Linked DNA regions of Homo sapiens: region 1 is linked to region 2. Evidence: promoter capture Hi-C in 16 types of primary human blood cells and fetal thymus (Javierre and others, 2016). All regions are on one chromosome and are shown on one strand. The core of a region is centred on a gene start or on the middle of the fragment in contact, and the rest is flanking DNA. Distances in the headings are between cores, read along the strand shown.

Evidence for each region. The method cuts DNA at HindIII sites, captures the fragments that hold promoters and counts their contacts. A CHiCAGO score of 5 or more calls a contact.
Region 1: a contact is called between a fragment that was not itself captured here and the fragment with the promoter of TBCCD1 in region 2, in 1 of 17 cell types (megakaryocytes). The highest score is 5.1, in megakaryocytes.

Annotation. Positions count from the first base shown.
Region 1 is chr3:186,339,108-186,343,615 of GRCh38, reverse strand. All of the region lies in intron 1 of DGKG (diacylglycerol kinase gamma), which reads left to right. Among named protein-coding and RNA genes, the nearest start is that of DGKG, 21 kb to the left of the region's middle. The HindIII fragment of the contact is 1,506 bases long and covers 1,104-2,609 here.
Region 2 is chr3:186,564,363-186,568,924 of GRCh38, reverse strand. TBCCD1 (TBCC domain containing 1) reads left to right here and starts at 1,586. Exons shown (of 8, transcript NM_018138.5): 1 at 1,586-1,658; 2 at 4,553-4,562. RefSeq lists a silencer at 1,393-1,682. The HindIII fragment of the contact is 1,727 bases long and covers 1,374-3,100 here.

The sequences.
Region 1 (4,508 bases), core at 607-3,106, 230 kb after region 2:
CTTCCACTTTTTTGATAATAAAAATAAGATAGTCCAGGTGCAGTGGCTCACACATAATCCCAGCACTTTGGGAGGCAGGCAGATTGCTTGAGGTCAGGAAATTGAGACCAGCCTGGGCAACATGGTGAAATCCCGTCTCTACCAAAAATACAAAAAAATTAGCAAGGCATGGTGGTGCGCATCTGTGGTCCTGGCTACTCAGGAGGCTGAGGTGGGAGGATCACTTCACCCCGTGAGGCAGAAGTTGCAGTGAGCCAAGACTGCGCTACTGCACTCCAGCCTGGATGACAGAGTGAGACTTTGTCTCCAAAAAAAAAGAAAAGAAAGAAAGAAGATTAGATTTGCTTGTTTCTGGTCCTCTGGCTTCTTGTTGTTGTTTTTCTCCAAAATTCTTCAAAGATCAACGAAAGTGGTTCAGTAGCCTCCATGGAGGTTCTGGTAATCCTCGTTCACAAGCGATAGACTAAGCTGTTCTTTGCTCTTATGGGTCTAAAATGAACTGGCCCAGTTCCCAGAATTCCTCCAACTTTTTTTGGCCCATAGTGGGGTTTTTTGTTGTTATTGTCATTTAGTATTTCAGATCACTTTCAGCTATTTTTTTCACATTATAATTTTTCCGTTTAAGTTTGTGCCATCTTCCTATATGTTCCTTGGTTGTGTGCCTTTCTTTTCCTTTTTTTCTAAGTGTCTTTTTCAGATGGGAATCTGTGGGTGAGCCTGCAGGCACATTTTTTAAAAGGACCATTTCTTTTCCCTTTTTATTGGAATGATTTTTGAACGCTTCCCCATTTTGGAAAACTTCAGGCTGCCTCTATTCCAGAATCTCATCTAATCATAACTATCTTCTTTTTAACTTTTTAGACTGCCTAAATCTAGACTTCTTGGCTACTTATTACAGCCAGCCTTCTCCTCATTGACAATCATGTCTTCTGAGCTGGAGTGGCTTGTTTCTCCTAATATGTCTCTTCTGCTTGCTTCACCAAGCAGGGTCTTTCTGTTGGTCAGAATGAGGGACCGAGAGAAAAAAAACAGAAATAAAACAAAACAAAAAATCAAATAAAAAAATAAAGAATGAGAGACAGAGGAGTGTATCTAGTTAAGCTTCTTTATTCCATGTCAACAAGGGAAATGAAGAGACTTGTCTGATGCGCTATTTTTAGCTGAAAAGGGCGTTTTGCAAGTGTTCAGTCAGCACAAGACCACTTTCACTGCTGTAACTTCCCTTATGACAGAATAACAGTGGCTAAGAATCCACCCTCCATTTCTTCCTGTGGCCAAGCGGCCTGTAGAAAATGCTCATAATGAACTCACATGTGTTCTTTACCATATTCTGCTCACTCATGATATCTCTAGGTGCTCTATCCTTAGGGTCGTGAATTTCCGTAACAAATCAATCTCTTGCTGTCTAGACTATTCAGCCCATTAATGTAGTTTCTAGTATTTTTTTTTATTATACTTTAAGTTTTAGGGTACATGTGCACATTGTGCAGGTTAGTTACATACGTATACATGTGCCATGCTGGTGCACTGCACCCACTAACTCGTCATCTAGCATTAGGTATATCTCCCAGTGCTATCCCTCCTCACTCCTCCCACCCCACAACAGTCCCCAGAGTGTGATATTACCCTTCCTGTGTCCATGTGTCCTCATTGTTCAATTCCCACCTATGAGTGAGAATATGGGGTGTTTGGTTTTTTGTTCTTGCGATAGTTTACTGAGAATGATGTTTTCCAATTTCATCCATGTCCCTACAAAGGACATGAACTCATCATTTTTTATGGCTGCATAGTATTCCATGGTGTATATGTGCCACATTTTCTTAATCCAGTCTATCATTGTTGGACATTTGGGTTGGTTCCAAGTCTTTGCTATTGTGAATAATGCTGCAGTAAACATACGTGTGCATGTGTCTTTATATCAAACAAATTTACAAGAAAAAAACAAACAACCCCATCAAAAAGTGGGCGAAGGACATGAACAGACACTTCTCTAGTATTCTTTATAATTATGTATACATATGTGTACGTGTCACCAGGTACCTTCCCTCTCTTGTCTTTGTTTTACCAGCAGTTCCTGGATAGATTCATGGTATCATGGTATCATCCCAACTCTTTTATATTTTATTTTATTTCTGAGTTGGTGGTTTCACTATATTGCCCAGGTTGGTCTTGAACTTCTTGGCTCAAGCCATCTTCCTTCCTCAGCCTCCCAAGTAGCTAGGACTACAGTTGTGTACCACTGCATCTGGCTCTATCCCAGCTCTTTGATCCTCTTACTCATCACCCTGTACTAAATACATGTCCCCCATGCTTAGTAGATGCAAGTCCTTCATGACCAGACATGAACTTACCCTTCCAGCATATGATAAATCATGGTCCAGAAATCTACAGCCACTTAGTGATATCTGCTTCTTTGTTATCCCAGAATCCCAATGATCAGCAGAAAGAACAATGACAACATTATCCCTATTCCCAAGTCCTTCACAGTCTCGCCCCTCAAACTAGTGGGAGATCCAGTTAGCCTAGGAGATAAAGTACCTTGAATACTTGGAAAAGGCACTGAACACAAACTGATAGTTTAGTTCTTGACCTGGAAAATAATTGAAGCTTGTGGTTTTCGGTAGTCTCATGTGCAGAACAGACTAAAATGAGTGAGAAGATAGTTATGAGACCAGAGACCTGCTAGGGCCATTAAGAAGCCCCTACCCAGAAACTGGAGGTGCTGTTACAAGGAATTTAATGGAGAGAAAGGGGCAGAGCTGAAAGATAAAAGACAAAACTTGGCGAATTGATGTCTGATTTGGTATTGAGATTTCAGAGAGGGGAAGGAGACTAAAGGTAAATAAAGCCAATGTATCAAGCCCAGGAAATGTGGAGAATGACTTCTTCATTGAAAAAGTTAGTTGTTTAGTTTTGGAGATAGACGTGGGAGGAAGGTAAGTTTGAGAGTAGAGTATTTATATATTTAAAAGTTACATCTAGCAAGTGGTTAGAGGAATGAATATGTGCATGTGATTCCATCAGCAACAGGGTGGCTTTCTGACCAAACTAAACTCAGCATGTGATTTCACACTCTGATCAAAACAATGTCAGTCAATCAAATAAAATGATTTATTTTTCTTTAGTTGGGGCTGGTTTCTGTTGGCTATTTTTGCCTAGTTCAAAGTGACTCACCCAGGGAGCCAGTCCCTCCAATTGGGTTGTAATTTATTAAACACATTCAGCCAAATGACTAACTCTGTGCTCTTCTCCCAACCCCTCCAGTGTTATTAGTCTGGCCCACACATCCAGCCACTCCTAACCCCTGCAAGCAGATGTTTCCATAAAGTTTATAGTTTTTTAAATTTACTTATTCATTAACAGCTTCTAGAGATGAAGGTGAAAATTTACAATGTTTTGTCTTCTACAGCTGGTACTGAAAAGCATCTTCTTTCCCTCCCATCCTCTTCCTCGAAGATTTTTCATCTCTAAATTCATACTTTCTCTCATTTTAAACCACTTCTCCATTTTATGAGGACACTCAAGGGGTCAGGGAATCTTGGCACATTTACCTGTGTCTGATAAAGAGGAAGGGAAGGGAATTAACATCTGTGGAGACCTGTGCCAGGCACGGCCCTGGGAAACCTATATTCATTATCTTTAATCCTACTGTGTAAGGTGATACCACTATTCCCATTTTCCAGATGAGGAAACTTGGGCTCAAGAGATTAGGTAGAATAAATAGTATGCTCAAGACCACAAATATAGGAAATGTCATGGAGGACATGCTGACTCAGGTTTGTTGGAGCTTGGGGTGATACTCTTTTCTGTTTCCTGGCAGATATAGATTTCCGGGTACTGCTGACACTTTGTGCTCCACATCAGAAGCCAGTGGTACAAAGGAGCAGCAGAGAAACCTTCAATATCTCACAGGCCCCAGCGTACAGGCCTCTTGGCATACCACCCACCCCCACAACCCACACACATGCTTCAGTAAGCTGGGCTCATTATTTTGGAAGATTTGGGGGAAATGAAATAGCACATTCCTAATTAGTTTGAACTGAGGAACCCATTAGCTGTATTTTTTATTGAAATTGAAAATACAAAAACATAATCTCATAGCATGAAAAAACCTCTTTTAAAGTTACATCCAATTTAGGAGTCTTGAGGTTTTGATTTTAGTAGTTCCTCTCTCCGGTGGAGGCATGTAAGACACAGTTAGTAAACAGGAGTCTTTTCTGCTCTTTCTTCTCAGTCAACCATGTCAACATCATCGCTGTCTGAGCTCTTCTTTCTCTGAGCTCCACAGCCCTTAGCACACACAGCTCAGTACTATAGCTTTTATGGAAGCTCTGTGATATCCCCAATGGGCTTTAAGTTCACTGATGGCTAAGGTAATCCTAATTCATCTTTGCCTCCCCCATAGCTCCTAGCAGAGTATTTTAAACATACTAAAAGCTTGATAAATGCACAAGCATAATTGCCCATTGAACATCATTATTTTAACCAACTTTATAGGAAAGGATAAA
Region 2 (4,562 bases), core at 337-2,836:
TCTTTATTTCTTTTTTTTTCCTGAGACAGAGTCTCGCTCTGTCGCCCAGGCTGGAGAGCAGTAGCGTGATCTTGGCTCACTGCAACCTCCGCCTCCTGGGTTCAAGCGATTCTCCTGCCTCAGCCTCCCGAGTAGCTGGGACTACAGGCGCACACCACCATGTCCGTCTAATTTTTTTGTATTTTTAGTAGAGACTGGGTTTAACCATGTTGGCCAGGCTGGTCTCGAACTCCTGACCTCAAGTGATCCACCCGCCTCAGCCTCCCAAACTGCTGGGATTATAGGCATGAGCCACCACGCCCGGCCTCCTATTTTTTTCATCCCTGGTCCCTAGACTTACACACTGAAATGCCAGTTTCATGAGAGCATGAATCTATATTGTTCTGTTCACAGCTGTATAAAAGAGCACCTTAGAACAGTGCCTGGCATGGAGTAGGTGCTGAAGTACTTTTGAGTCAAAGTTACTGGGATGGTGATCATTGTATGGCTGGCTTCTTACTCTTCAGGCCTCAGCTCAAATTTGGCACCACAAAGTGGCCTTCCCTGACCCCCCGCCCCAATTTTCATAGCATTTTTCACTATTTGAAATTATCTTATTTTATTCCTTAATATGTATTGTCTATTCTCCCTGTTATACACTCCAAGAAAGCAAGGACCTTGTCTGTTTTGTTCACTTCTGTCATTCTAGTGCGTACCACTGTGCCAGACACACAGTGGTACTCAACAAGTAACAGCAGGGTCACTGAGCTAATAAGTGGTGCAGCCTGGATCCTAACCCAGGTATGTGTAAATTTGAAGCCCCTGCTTTCAGGAAGATACCCAGTAGGGACAATGGCCACACAAAAGAGGAACTAAATTGCATTTTACGGTCTAATTTACCTTTGTATCTATCACACCTAGAGAGGCCATAAAGGAACTAAAAAAAGCAGGAAATGTCCAGAAATTCTGAAATGGAAGTTTAAAGGAAGGAGTGATGGCTTCTGCCCGGTAATCTGAAAAAGCTTCATGAAGGTGGAAACACGGCAGGAAAGCTAACAGAGTTAAGGAGCTGACACCGAGGGGCGGCAGGGAGTGCCAGTCTTGCTTCAGACGCCCTGGGCTTGAATCTTGGCTCCATCTCTTGTGTGACCTTAGGGTTGTGTTATTTTCACCTTTCTAGGCCCTAGTTTCTTCATCAGTAAAACGAATGTACTTAAAGGGCTCTTGACAAGACTTAGGAAATACACATAAAGTTGCTTTACACAGTGCTGAGACCATAGTAAGTGCTCTATAAATGCAAACTGCCATTAGTATTAGTAGCATTTCTGATGAAAGCGTGCTGATCTTACCAGCAGCTATTAGCTGACCACAGTTATGCGGAGCAACAGAAAGCTTCCTACCCCCCCGGGTTGAAAGGCGCGACACCAGAAAGCGGTGGGTCTGGCTCCAGGTGCCACTGTTGCGGACTCTCGACCCCAGCCTAGATTTTCTCAGACGCTTGAGCCGCAATCTGCCGCTCTAGCAACGGGGTCCGCCAGGTCTCGGTGGTGCGGGGCCTCGCGCTTGCGCAGTGGGCACGGCAGCGGCGCGCGGAGGAGGGTGAGGGGCGGGCCCAGCGAGCGGACGCCGGGCGCGGCGGCGCGCGGAGAAGTGCGGCGGAGCGGCGCCTGCATTAGCAGGTAACCGCGCACTGGGTGCGCCGGGGAGGGCGGTGTGGGTTAGTCAGGCTTCAGGCTTGGGTCGAGGAGGCTGCCTTCGCGCTTACCGCGTCTCGGGTCAGCTACCGACCCTGTCAGCGTGAGCGTCTGTGTTCCTGAAGTCCGGTCGCGACGCTGGGGCGGCCCACGCAGAGTCCCACCCCGGATCGCGTCCAAGGTGGCGGCGAAGCCCCAGGACAGCCGCCTTGGACCCACGCCGATCTCCCGACCTGAAAAACCTTAACCTCAGGGCACCGCCAGGGTCAGAGCCCCAGTTTATGTTTGTTTACGGATTGAGCCCTCTCGATTCTCGGAGTTAGAATGGAGGGCTCATCTCTGGGATCTGGCTGTTGACAGGGGCTCAGTACCTCACAGAGCAGCCTCTTTACATTTTGGAGAGAACCGAGGTCTTCCTCGCCTAACTTTTATCGTCTGGTTTTACTCAAAACGACTCCAGTCTCTCCACATTGGAAGACAGCTGCCTTTTGCCCTTCCACGCCCTTCTTTTGAGTTTACTCTCCCTGGTTCTTTCACCTGGCTTCCTGTCTAAGACTCTTTATTCTGGAAATTCTCTTCTGGATCCACTCCCGTTTTTAAGAGATTCTCCCAAAACTGGATTCCTAGAGTACATTTATAGTAATGCAGTTCTCAAGTCAGACCTGAATCCTAATCTAGAGCTGTGCCAGCTAAGTAGGTGTCCTTAGGGAAATCCCTTAACTTCGCTAAGCCTCATTTTTTTTTCATCGAAAATGTGTACAGTCTTAAGTACTGTATCTCCAGGTGGTTGTGAGGATGAAAGGAGGTGAAGTATGCAAAATCATGAGCATGATACCTGGTACATAGTAAGCACTCGATTGATGTCAGTTATTTTTCCGAACAGATGATTCTCGAGAGAGGCACAGTTGGCAGGCCGGGTGCGGTGGGTCACGCCTGTAATCCCAGCACTTTGGAAGGCCAAGGCAGGCGGATCACCTGAGGTCAGGGAGTTCAAGACCAGCCTGGCCAACATGGTGAAACCCTGTCTGTACTAAAAAAATACAAAAATTAGCCTGGCGTGGTGGCGGGAGCCTGTAATCCCAGCTACTTGAGAGGCTGAGGCAGGAGAATCGTTTGAACCTGGGAGGTGGAGGTTGCAATGAGCCGAGATCGAGCTATTGCACTCCAGCCTGGGCAACAGAGCGAGACTCCGTCTCAAAAAAAAAAAAAAGAGAGAAGCACAGTTTTCTTAGAATCAAATGCAAAATATAATAATAGCAATAAAATTTTCATCAGTCATATAATTGATTTTTTAAATTAGTTTTTATATTTTTAAAAAAATGATGTTGCTAATGTTGAGGAGTGCACAGTGAAGTAGGTACCAGAGTCAAAGGATGGTACAATTTGATAAAATCATTTGGAAGCAACAAGGATATATTTCACAAGCTTTAGAAATGTCAATTACTTAATTTCACAAAAGTACATCTGAAAATTTTCACACAGAAATAATTCGTAATGCAGAAAATATGAAGAAAGATGGTAGTGATAGCATTATTTACACTTGTGACAACATTTGAACTTTTGTAATGAAATTTTTTAACATACACAAAAATAGAATCAGTGAGCCCCCCACGTACCCATTACCCCACTTCAATAATGATCAGTATTTTGCCTATGTTGTTTTTGTGAAAAATCTGAAACCTAGTAAGGTGTCTAAAAATGGGAGAAGAGTTGAATAAAATGGGATACATTTATTTAGAATACTATAAAGCTTTTGAAACAGTACAGAATTGTGTATGTAACATCACAACTGTGAAAATTCAAAAACTAACATCTAATTTATGTGTAGAAAAAAGACAAAGAGGCCAGGCATAGTGGCTCAAGCCTGTAATCCTAGCACTTTGGGAAGCTGAGGCGAGGGATCACTTGAGGTCAGGAATTTGAGATCAGCCTGGCCAACATAGTTAAACCCCATCTCTACTAAAAATACAAAAATTAGCCAGGTGTGGTGGTGGACGCCTGTAGTCCCAGCTACTGGGGAGGCTGAGGCATGAGAATCGCTTGAACCTGGGAGGTGGAGGTTGCAGTGAGCTGAGATCATGCCACTGCACTCTAGCCTGGGCAACAGAGGGAAACTCCATCTCAAAAAAAAAAAAAAAAAAAGAAGAAGAAGAAGGAAATACAATAAAATATTAATTTGTTGCCCTTTACTTGTGGGATTGTGGATGGTTCCCTGTTTTTGTATTTTATAAATATTCCATAAAAATCATGTATCATTGTTACAACAAAAAAAAATCTAAAAAATCACACCTGAACTGAGCAGGATCAAATATGCTAGAGTGGGTTCACTGTTATAGAGAATAAAGATGCTGTAACTTCTCCTGATCTATTCTTGCAGTCTACATTTACATTAGCATTCTTGCCTGCTGCCTCACATTAGCACTTCATATTGAATTTATATGCTCAGCTAACATGTCCAGATCTTTAACCAACTGTCTTCTGTGTAAGTGATTTAACTCTGTGAAATGTATTTCCCTTATTTTGAACAGTGTTCCCCCTCAGAGTAGAAAAAGGTTTCCTGTGATAGGATGACTTTTTTCCCCTCATTCATTTTCTTCCTGGGATCTCACTCAGACTTCATGCATCTACACACACTTCCTAAAACAAGGATTTCTAACAATTCAAGTAAGATAATTTTGTTTTATCACAATTTTTTTCTCAGATTATAATGAGATCTGATTAAAAAAACTGTTCTGCTCTTGGTTGGTGAACTAGAGCTGCCTTTTAAGATGATGATGTAGTACATATGACACAGTTGAGAGAGAGGGGTCACCTTCCAAGAAAAAATGCATAAATGAGACTTGTTTCAAATCAGTTTATGAAGAAACTTTGTTTCCTAGGTATGCAAAG